Regions from separate parts of the Homo sapiens genome. Here all the other regions are linked to region 4. Evidence: promoter capture Hi-C in 16 types of primary human blood cells and fetal thymus (Javierre and others, 2016). All regions are on one chromosome and are shown on one strand. The core of a region is centred on a gene start or on the middle of the fragment in contact, and the rest is flanking DNA. Distances in the headings are between cores, read along the strand shown.

Region 1 (2,700 bases), core at 5-2,504, 360 kb before region 4:
ACTATGCCTGGCCTGTTTTTTTTATTGAAACAAAATAGATGTACATATTTTGGAGTACATGTGATATTCTGATACATTCGTACAATGTGTAATGATCAAATCAGGGTAACTGGGATATCTGCTACCTTAAACATTTATCTTTCTTTATGCTGGTAACATTAGAATTATTCTCTATTTTATGGCATGAACCTGGGAGGCGGAGCTTGCAGTGAGCCGAGATCGCACCACTGCACTCCAGCCTGGGCGACAGAGCGATAAGATTCCGTCTCAAAAAAAAAAAAAAAAAAGAATTATTTTCTATTTTAAAATACAAATCATTAACTAGTCACCCTATTGATCTATCAAACACTGGGTCTTATTTCCTCTAACTATATTTCTACACCCATTAATCAACCTCTTCATCCCCCCAGCCTTAAATTCCAAACTCTGTGCTCTTAGCCACTATGATACGCCATGTCATGTTTGAACAGAACTGATCTTTAAAGCAAAAAATAAAGCACTGTGTTCCAGAGGCAATCATCAGAGCATTTCAGAGTTGAGTCATGTTATCAAAGCCATACGTTCAAGCAGGGTAACTGAGAGGGTCTAGAATTTCATTTGTGCCTATTGTTGAATGCCTTTGCCTTTCAAGCTCCTTTTAGATTCCAGGTTAACTACTTACATACTTATTGCATAAAAAATTGTATCAATCTTAGGCTGAGCCAGGTGGACCACGAGGTCAGGAGTTCGAGACCAGCCTGGCCAACACAGCGAAACCCTGTCTCTACTAAAAATACAAAAATTAGCTGGGCATGGTGGCGGACGCCTGTAATCCCAGCTCCTCGGGAGGCTGAGGCAAGAGAATAGCTTGAACCCGGGAGGCAGAGGCTGCAGTGAGCTGAGACTGCACCACTGCACTCCAGCCTGGGTGACAGAACTAGACTCCGTCTCAGGGAAAAAAAAAAAAAAGTATCAATCTTGACAAAAGGTAATTACAAAACTTCCTAAAATCGTTAAAGGTCAACTGGTATCATCACACATCAGTTTGGTTCACTGATTTGTGAAAATAAACCATTTATACTTGTTTCCTAAGCTTTCCTGCATTTGCCACCTTAAGCAGAGTCAAGTTCAGTTCTCCTGGTGCCCTCCAGGTATCTTAGGCTGGATTCCCCTCTGACAACCACATTGTGGTTTCCATAACAAGCAGCTCTGACTAGTTCTGTATCCCCAGGCACTAGCATGGTCCCCAGTGGCTGGCAGCTTAAACTATGTGTGGGTGGTTTCTGGGCCAGAGTACCTAGAAGGCTTGGGCCTTAACCCTGTAGCACTCAGTTGCCTTTGGTAGACTACTCATTCTGGTCTTCAACCACCAGTTGGCTGGAGCACCTCAGCATTTGCGTTGAGTTTAGCAGGTTAGGACTAGCCAGAGTGTTAAACTGCAAGAAAAGGAAGCTTAAGCACACAGTTTAGAAGATAAAGGGTTATACGCAAAAATCCAACATACTCCACTTTAGAGGGCCAGACTGTAACTTGCCAGGTTTCTTGCCCATGGTCGTAACGCTAGCAGGGAAAGCAGAACCAAAATCAGAACATGGATAACTTGCCTTGGCAACACAGTGAGACCCCTTCTCTACCAAAAAAAAAAAAAAAAAAAAAAATAGTTGGGCATGCTGGCATGCAACTGTAGTCCCAGCTACTCGGGAGATCGAGGTAGAAGGATCACTTGAGCCCAGGAGGTTGAGGCTGAAGTGAGTCGTGATGGTACCACTGCACTCCAGCACATGACAGTGCAAGACCCTGTCTCAAAAACAAATGAAGATGGATAATCTTTTTCCTGTTTAGCATTCTTTCCACAATACCACACCATTGAACAGCTCAAGACACCTTGCAAGGACCTTAAAGGTACTCACTGGACAGAGGGCAAGACAGCAGGATAAAAGAGCCTCTATTGGATAGTTTAATGAAACTGACATTCCTGACATTTAGTGCCAGCTACATAATTATGTCCCATACATTTCCAAAATGAAATATTGTATAGCCACTGCAATGTACTGAGAACGCAACTGTTAAAGGGAAAAAGTAAAAACACCTCCCAACTATGTCTAAAGGAAAAAAAAGCCTTAGCTGTGTTTACTATTTGGTGTTTCTAATAGTAAAAGAGAACCCACTGTCGCCTCAGTATTGTAATTATTGTGTATAATTTTTTATTCATTTTTTTTTTCTGAGACAGGGTCCACTCCCAGACTTTCATGGGTAGCAGCTGAAGAAACGAGAAAAATAACCACACAGTAAGAACTTCATAAGAACTAAATGTATTAAGGAAACCTCCTTGGGTATCATGCCCTTCCTGCTTTTTTTGGCCACTACCTCTACACTTTAGTATGCGTACAAATCACCCGCAGATCTCGTTAAATTAGATTCTAATTCAGTAGGTCTGAGGTAGGGCCCACGAGTTTTAACAAACTCCCAGGCGATCCTATCTACCCACTTGGTACAAGTTCAACCACAAATGACAGTGCTTTAGATACCAATAGGACATTTGTTTGCAAGTCAAGCTTCTAGCCAGAATAGGGGCTAGCTGTCTAGCTACTGGGTGGTTGTCTGTCTCTAGTGGTTGCAGTCCTCCAGATGTTTCATGACCTGCCCAAAATCTCAATGCCATTTAGAGCTAGGACTAAAACCTGGTTAGCTCTTTGAACTCCCAACAGTGCTTCTTCCACT
Region 2 (2,700 bases), core at 151-2,650, 410 kb before region 4:
CAAGCAGTCCTACACCAGCCAAGCCCACCAACACCCTGCTATTGACCAGAACACTCATCCTGCCAGTTCTCCCCCAGCTCTCCCGTCTCTGTTACCTTTGGGCTTATTGGCATGTGCGAACTGGATATTCTTTGTTAGTACTCGTAGCCGCTGCTCTCGGGCGTCCTGAAGCCGCAGGTACATCTCTCGCCACGACTCATACTCTTCGGGTCTTTCTTCCTTAAAGTCTCGGTGACAATGAACTTTCCATAATTGATCTGTTTCTTCAATTAATACCTGAAACCAGAACCAGGACATCATTTGTGTACAAGCACTTTTCCATATTTTTTTTTTTTTTTTGAGACAGAGTCTTGCTCTGTCGTGTAGACTGCAGTGCAGTGGTGCAATTTTGGTTCACTGCAACCCTTGCCTCCTGGGTTCAAGCGATTCTCACGCCTCAGCCTCTCAAGTAGCCAGGACTACAGGTGCTTACCACCACGCCCAGCTATTTTATATTTTCAGTAGAGATGGGGTTTTGCCATGTTGTCCAGGCTGGTCTCGAACTCCTGACCTCAGATAATCCGCCCACCTTGGCCTCCCAGAGTGCTGGGATTACAGGCGTGTGTCACCATGCCCAGCCTCATATCTTTTTCTGATTATTTAATTACCTAGGAGTGACCAGTTTCCCAAAAATTTTTTGGTCTTCATCTTAGTAGTATGTTAAAATACCACAATTCTAGGAAAAAAATAACTCCCTAAATTTTAAAAATGCGAAGTGTGAGGCACTATGCTAGTTGCTTTTGGTGGCTGTGACAGAATATCACAAAAATCTGTGTAACATCAGTCTTTTCCTTTAGAAAATCAGCAAAGGGTAGAACTGCGATCAAGTCAAATCAGGTACTTCCCAACACTACGCTGAACTGTGATGGCAAAGGGGCAACCTAAGAAGGATGTTAAGTTATTGGCCAGGCGCGTTGGCTCATGCCTGTAATCCCAGCACTTCAGGAGGCCAAGAGTCTGAGAGTCCATCTCTCTAAAAAATAAAAATATTAGCCAGCTGTGGTGGTATGTGCCTGTAGTCCCAGCTACTTGGGAGGATCACTTAAGCCCAGGAGTTCAAGGATGCAGTAAGCCATGATTAGGCCTCTGTACTGCAGTCGAAGCAACAGAGGTAGACCCTATCTCCAAAAAAAAAAAAAAAGGTGTTAGGTCATAGAACTTTCAGAATTAAAGAGAGACAGCTGATGCAATCAAATGTGTATACCCTACATCCTAAGGAGGATTCTGGATAAATCTTGATGTTTCTTAAGAGACATCCAGCCAATCACCAGATGTCAGAGTGTCAACACAAAGTGCTTTCCCCGCCCTGGGTCCCAGCTACTCTGCTGCCAGAATTCTCCCTTTACCTTCATGACTAGGCAAGCTCAAGGGAGATGTTAAGTGTTTTTCTTCTCCCTTTGAATCCCACCCTGATCCTAGCCCAAGAGGCCCACTTAAGGTGCCAGGAGCAAGTGCTAATAACATGCTTGTTTAAAGGCCCAGTGGCAAACCAAATATATCCAGAACAATGCTCTGACCACTGATCTGCCCTTCAGCCACAGCGGAGTCACAGGGACAAAGCTATTTCTGGAGGTACAAGCCAGAAAACTGCCCTCTTCCCACCCAAACAGAATACTCACATGATTGTATTCCTCTATGCGATACAGCTGATCAGGTGTACACCTCTCCAAAACGGGTTCAAGAACAGAGTATGGGACTCCTCCCACTTCAAAGATTGCTGCAGAGAAACCAAAGGTGAAGACACTGAGTAGCAGCCAAGCCACCCAGTGATAAGGTCCAAGTGCTACAATGTGCTTGAGAGCTAGAGAGAAGCGTGTGACTTACAATCGATGTTGTTTTTAAGTACTCGGATGCATTGCTGGTGCAAGGTCATCATTTTAGGGAGATAGGCACACTTGGAACCAGAATACACCTGCATCTTGGAATTCATTCTGCGCCCAGTAAATCCAGCTTCTTCTTCTTCCTGGGGTGAAGAGAACGCTATAGGGCAAGAAAAACACAAAAGGCCCTAAGTGATCCAGTGAAAACTCTCCTTCTACCCCCTTCAGCCTCCTACTTCCCTTTCCCAATGGCAATCCACGCTACAGATTTTTGTAGATCCTTCCAGAGAATTTAAAAATAAGCTCCTGTAATCCCAGCACTTTAGGAGGCCAAGGCACATGAATCATCTGAGGTCAAGAGTTCGAGATCAGCCTGCCCAACATGCACCTGTAGTCCCAGCTACTCAGGAGGCTGAGGCAGAGGAATTGCTTGAACCTAGGAGGTGGAGGCTGCAGTGAGCCAAGATGGAGCTACTGCACTCCAGCCTGAGTAACACAGCAAGACTCTCAACAGCAACAACAAAAAAAAGCAAATGTATCTTATTCCTTTTAAGCCAATGAATCAATTAATAACATACTCACTACATACATTGCTTTTTTTCATTTGCCACATCTGAGAGATCATTCCATGTCAGTGCATAGACTTTCCACATTTTTTTTTTACTGTGGCATAGGATGCCACTGTGTAGATGAACCATGATTTATCTGTTAGTCTCCTGCTGATAGACCCTTATGTGGCTTCTACTTCTTTTGCTATGAAAATTAGACATTTTTTTCTTTCAGACAAAAATCCTATGTAACACATAGGATAAAGGGCTGCTAATAACAGCAGCAGCAATTT
Region 3 (2,700 bases), core at 26-2,525, 430 kb before region 4:
GCTCAGTGCCGTGAATTATTCCTGCTTTTAGGTCACAGTTTCAGGTAAGGGACCTGGAATGTGGCAAACAGTAAATGTTTACTTGACTGATATACTTGGTAGCCTTTCTTTGGTAAGAGTGTCCTTTTGAAGAACCAACTCAGGCCTTACCCCGGAGATCTACTCATTTTGGCTTTTTCCTGTTGCCTTCATTAATGATTTATTTGAGCACTGTGTGCTAAGCACATTATGTAGTTCATCTCAATTAATTGTCACATGAACTTTAAGAGCTAGGTACAGCCAGGTGTGGTGGCTCACACCTGTAACACTTTGGGAGGCCGAGGCGGGTAGATCACTTGAGGTCAGGAGTTTGAGACCAGCCTGGCCAGCATGGTGAAACCCCGTCTCTACTAAAAATAGAAAAATTAGCCAGGCATCGTAGCGTGTGCCTGTAATCCCAGCTACTCGGGAGGCTGAGGCAGGAGAATCGCTTGAACCCAGGAGGCAGAGGTTGCAGTGAGCCGAGATTGTGCCACTGCACTCCAGCCTGAGCGACAGAGCGAGACTCCATCTCAAAAAAAAAAAAAAGAGAGCTAGGTGCTATTACCTACTGTTATCTCCAATTTGAAGATGAGGAAAACTGAGGCTGAAAGAGGCAAACTAACTTGTCTGAGACTAGGTAAAGTTAGGAGGTAACCAGGCTTTGAACACATCCTGTAGTGTTCTTGTAACACATCAGTAGTTTCCTGGTTAGGGTGGGGAGGTTGAGGCGGGAGGTGCACACAAAGTAAATATGCTGTATCAATTAGCTTATGCTGTGTAACAGATTACCCTAAAACTTTGATAGCTTTAAACAACAAACATTGATTAATTCGCATGATCCTGTGGATTAGCTTTTCTGGGCCAGTTCAGCTTGGGCTGGAAAGTTTGGGATGGTCTCACTCTCGTCTGCTTGATGCTGGCTGTTAGCTGGGATGATGGGACCACGTGTCTCCAGCAGACAAGCCTAGCTAAATTACATGGTGATAATTGCAGAGTTCCCAGGAGCAAGAGAGGGCAAGACTCAATTGCACAAGCACTTTTTTTTTTTTTTTTTTTTTTGAGATGGAGTCTTGCTCTGTCACCTAAGCTGGAGTGCAGTGGCACAATCTCCGCTCACTGCAACCTCCCCCTCCCGGGTTCAAGCGATTCTCCTGCCTCAGCCTTCCGAGTAGCTGGGATTACAGGCGCCTGCCACCACGCCTGGCTAATTTTTGTATTTTTAGTAGAGATGGGGTTTCACCATGTTGGGCAGGCTGGTCTCAAACTTCTGACCTCAGGTGATCTGCCCACCTCGGCCTCCCAAAGTGCTAGGATTACAGGCATGAGCCACTGCGCCCTGCCAGCACAAGCACTTTTTAAGCCTTACATCTATAATCTTTCTATAATGACCCATCAGCCAAATCCAAATTCTAGAGTGGAGAGCTAGACTGTAGACTTCACCTCCTGATTGGAAGAACTGCAAAATACTGTGGCTCCTCCCCTCCCAGTAGGTCTGTATTAGTTGTCTTTTGTTGTGTAACAAATTATTCCCAAACTTAATGGCTTAAAACTGTAGCAGGACAAGCTGCAGATAAAACCTGTCAGACACCAGGTTAAAGAAGGAAGAGACTTTATTCGGCCAGGAGCGTTGGCAGAGTTGTGTCTCAAGAACCAAGCTCTCCAAAGAAAAAGTTCCTGGCCCTTTTAAGGGCTTATAACTCTAAGGGGGTCCACGTGAAAGGGTTGTGATAGATTGAGCAAGTGATCTATAGGTAACACATGTGGTTAGGGTGGGGGCGTTAATCTTTAACCTCAGGCCTGGTAAGTGGCATCAGTTGGTCTTGCCACTGACTTCATTCCTGTTGTTTTTCAGCTTTTACTTCTTCCTTCTCTTCAGAGACAGTAAGAGAAATGGCCTCTCTCCTCAAAACAACAATTAACATTTATCATCTCACAGTTTCTGTGAGTTAGGAATTTGAGAGCGTCCTAGCTGGGTGGTTCTGGCTTGGGGTCTCTCATGAGCCTGAAATCATATGAAGGCTTGGCCAGGGCTGGAGAAGCCCCGGCTGGCAAGTTTGTGCAGGCTCTTGGCAGGAGGCCCCAGTTCCTTAACACATGGACCTCTCAATAGTACTGTTTGAGTGTCCTCATGATACAGCAGCTGGTTTTCAGCAGAACAAGTGATCTAAGGGCAAGGTAGAAACCACCAATGTCTTTTATGACCTAGCCACAGAAGTCCCATATTGTCAATTTTGCAACATCCCATGGTTTCACAGGTCAGCCATATTCAGTGTGTGCGGGAACTTCATAAGAGTGCAGATACCAGGAGGTAGAAATCATTAGAGGCCACCTTAGTGGCTGGCTACCATGCTGCCATACATGTTAAGTGGCACTGAAAATGGCTTTATTCTACTGTACTTAATTAGTAGTTTGGCTGTGGATAGAATTCTTTCATAATTGTGAAGAAATTGCTCTGGTTTTCTTCTGGCTTTGATAAATACAATGCTGTTCTGAATCCTGATTCTTTTTATGGGTTTTCCCCCCACCCCACCCCGTTTTCTGGAAGCTTTTAAGATCTTCTCTTGGTATTCTAGAATGTGATGATTTTTGTTGTGCTTTGGTCTCTTTTGTCATTCATTGTGCTGGATACCTGAGGGACCTTTTCAATTTAGAACCCCTAGAACAAAGTGTGAGCACACA
Region 4 (2,700 bases), core at 192-2,691:
TCTTTTTTTTTTTTTTTAAGACGGAGTTTCGCTGTTGTTCCCTAGGGTGGAGTGCAGTGGTGCGATATTGGCTCACTGCAACCTCCGCCTCCCGGGTTCAAGCGATTTTTCTGCCTCAGCCTCCGGAGTAGGTGGGTTTACAGGCACGTGCCACCACACCGGGCTAATTTTTGTATTTTTAGTAGAGGCAGGGTTTCACCATGTTGATCAGGCTGGTCTCGAACTTCTGACCGATACACCCGCCTCGGCCTCCCAAAGTGCTGGGATTACAGGCATGAGCTACCACGCCCCGCCCGTTTTCAATAATTAAATATAGGTTTGTAGGTTCTGAGAAATTTAATCATCCTTGAGTGCATCTGGAAATCTGCAGACCACTGCTTGACTTCCTCCACTTCCTAAGGGTGGGGCATTGGAGTTTGGGGTTGGGAAAAAAGCGCTTGCACCACAGAAGTGAGTTCGGAAGGTTTCTATGAGACGAGACAGGTTTGGACTAAGGACAGGGAACAAATCAGTAGGAATGGCAGGTGAGAAATAGGTTTAGGACTAACACGAATTATAGTGTCCTTTGGGAATTACCCCTTTCCCCTGCATGGCTCTTTTGGCTTCAGAGATGTATATAGCTGCTTTATTTTATGAATATCAAGTAGCTCCAAACCCTGTGGGGAAAAGCTCCCTGCTCTATCACTTGTGTTACACATTGCTTTTGAGTCATTTTAACGATTTCCCTCACAGTCTGCCACCAACGATGTGTGGACGGCAGCCAGGGAGGGAAAGAGGCATTTCTCCGATCGTTCCAAGGAATGATTATCTAGACAAAATCCTCAGCAAAATGACGAGCCAAATCATCCTTAAATCGTGTGCTCACTAGAGGCGAAAAGATGACCGAAAGAGGCCCGAACGCGTGGCTATGGGCGTGTCTGGGGGGAACGCCGGCCGCGGGGGTGCGAGGGAGGACTCGGGGGCTAAGGGCGGCCGGTGGCGGGACGCAAGCGCCATGGCGGAGCTGGGCCAGTGCTGACCATAGGGGGCGGGGCTCCGGAGGCGGCCACGCGGCGCGAGGCCTAGATTTTCGGCCTCGCATCGGCGGCAGACGAAGAGGGAGGAGCTTCGTCCACCCAGGACCCAGCGCCCCCAAGCCTTGCAGCCACCAAGGGCTTCCACCACAGACCCCTTTGTGTGCCTGCCCCCGCCCCGGAGGCGCCCCAGCCAGGGGCGCTGAGCACCCTCATTGGTTCAGCCGGCAGCTTCATCGATTGGCTCTCGAGTCGTCCGGCGTGGTCCGTTTTGCCTGGATACTACTGGTCGTCTGAGCTGCCTGTCAGGCCGCCTCGCCAAGCGATTGCCCCGTAGCTCGGAGTCCCTGGAAGCAGTTCCGGGAAACCCCGCGTGCTGCCGGGATCGCGTCTCAGTCCATCAGGGGGGGGAGGGGGTGGCGCGCGCGCCATTTCTAGTCGTTTTCAAAGCGCCTCGCGCTGATTCTCACGGGCCCGGCTGCCGGCCCCCGCTCTGCCCTGGTGAGTCTCGCGCCGGCCCGTGGGGGGAGGGGCCGGGAGCCCCGATGCGACCCGACTCAGCCCGGGCTCCGTGCCTGGTCCCGTTTCGTTTGCGCTCCGAGGCCCCGGGGTGGGGGTGGGGACGGGCTGGGGGCGGCTTCGGTCTAGTCCGCCCGCGCGGCTGTGGGCCTAGCCCGGCCGAAACGCTTCTCGCCCTCGCTCTTCCTCCCCCCGCCCCTTTAGCCCGCGGTCCGGCCCGCTGGGCGCTCTCCGCGCGGCCTGCTGGGGCCGGCCGTGCTTTTCCCGCCTCCGCTCGCTGCTCCATGCGGCCGGATCCCGCGAAGGGCCTGAGGCGCCCGCGGCCCTGCCGCTTCTCCCCGCCGGAGCCGCTTCGCTCCCGCCGCGGCCGGCCTAGCCCGAGAGGGATGTGCTGATGATCCGGACGGGCCTGAGGGGATGGGGGTGGGGGGCGGAAGGCGGGGTGCAGATCCCAGGGTTATCTGAGCCGGGAGAAAAGTTTTGTGTGAGCAGAAACCGAAAGGCCGATTTGTGTGGGAAGCCTCCCTCCCCTCCCACATTCTGCATGCCGCGGGCTGAGATTTGAAGGAAAAAATGACTACTAGAGGCCGTAGAACTTAGGCTCCAAGCGGCGCCTGAAATGGATAATTCTGAGACTGTCAGAGGCGCACCAAATTGGAAAGGCGATCCTTTTTCTTACACGGTAGTGGCCGTATTGCCAAATTTTTAAAAAAGCCCAGGGCTTCTTGGAAGGTTCAGTCCTTTCACACTACCTGTTTGAGATTTTTGCAGTCCTCAAGTGGCTGAATTGATGTCTCATGAGTCAGTCGTAGGATGAGAGCTCGACACTCCTAAGCCATGAGATAACCGTTAGTCTCATTTCGTTGGTTCTTTTAAAGCCCGTCTCTTAATATGAAGAATTTGCACAGAGAGGTTCAGAAAAAGTCAGGGAGGAGTTAGTGCTGACATCCCGAATCTCCCAGCAGCCCTTTTAAATCTTTAAATGTCTCCTTTTTTTTTGCAAAAATGTTTAGATCAAATGACTCCAGTCACGTTAGTATATTTGCTGCATCCAGAAATATGGTTTGGCTGTGTGGCATTGTGTTGAATGCCACATTTGAATGAGTTTCAAATGGTCTCATATGACATAAAAAGTCTTTTCAAAATGAGCATTTTGTATTTGGCTTGA

The links. The method cuts DNA at HindIII sites, captures the fragments that hold promoters and counts their contacts. A CHiCAGO score of 5 or more calls a contact.
Region 1: a contact is called between a fragment that was not itself captured here and the fragment with the promoter of HNRNPR in region 4, in 1 of 17 cell types (fetal thymus). The highest score is 5.7, in fetal thymus.
Region 2: a contact is called between a fragment that was not itself captured here and the fragment with the promoter of HNRNPR in region 4, in 1 of 17 cell types (fetal thymus). The highest score is 5.5, in fetal thymus.
Region 3: a contact is called between a fragment that was not itself captured here and the fragment with the promoter of HNRNPR in region 4, in 1 of 17 cell types (fetal thymus). The highest score is 7.7, in fetal thymus.

Annotation. Positions count from the first base shown.
Region 1 is chr1:23,698,502-23,701,201 of GRCh38, reverse strand. No RefSeq gene overlaps it. Among named protein-coding and RNA genes, the nearest start is that of RPL11, 8.0 kb to the right of the region's middle. The HindIII fragment of the contact is 359 bases long and covers 1,075-1,433 here.
Region 2 is chr1:23,753,419-23,756,118 of GRCh38, reverse strand. It overlaps ELOA (elongin A), which reads right to left. Exons shown (of 11, transcript NM_003198.3): 6 at 1,864-2,019; 7 at 1,659-1,756; 8 at 96-276. Among named protein-coding and RNA genes, the nearest start is that of ELOA, 11 kb to the right of the region's middle. The HindIII fragment of the contact is 9,647 bases long and covers 1-2,700 here.
Region 3 is chr1:23,773,764-23,776,463 of GRCh38, reverse strand. The region is part of intron 1 of ELOA-AS1 (ELOA antisense RNA 1); the gene reads left to right. Among named protein-coding and RNA genes, the nearest start is that of ELOA-AS1, 3.2 kb to the left of the region's middle. The HindIII fragment of the contact is 2,586 bases long and covers 1-2,568 here.
Region 4 is chr1:23,343,025-23,345,724 of GRCh38, reverse strand. HNRNPR (heterogeneous nuclear ribonucleoprotein R) reads left to right here and starts at 1,441. Exons shown (of 11, transcript NM_005826.5): 1 at 1,441-1,514. RefSeq lists silencers at 899-1,018, 1,529-1,888, 1,899-1,968 and an enhancer at 924-1,508. The HindIII fragment of the contact is 3,804 bases long and covers 1-2,700 here.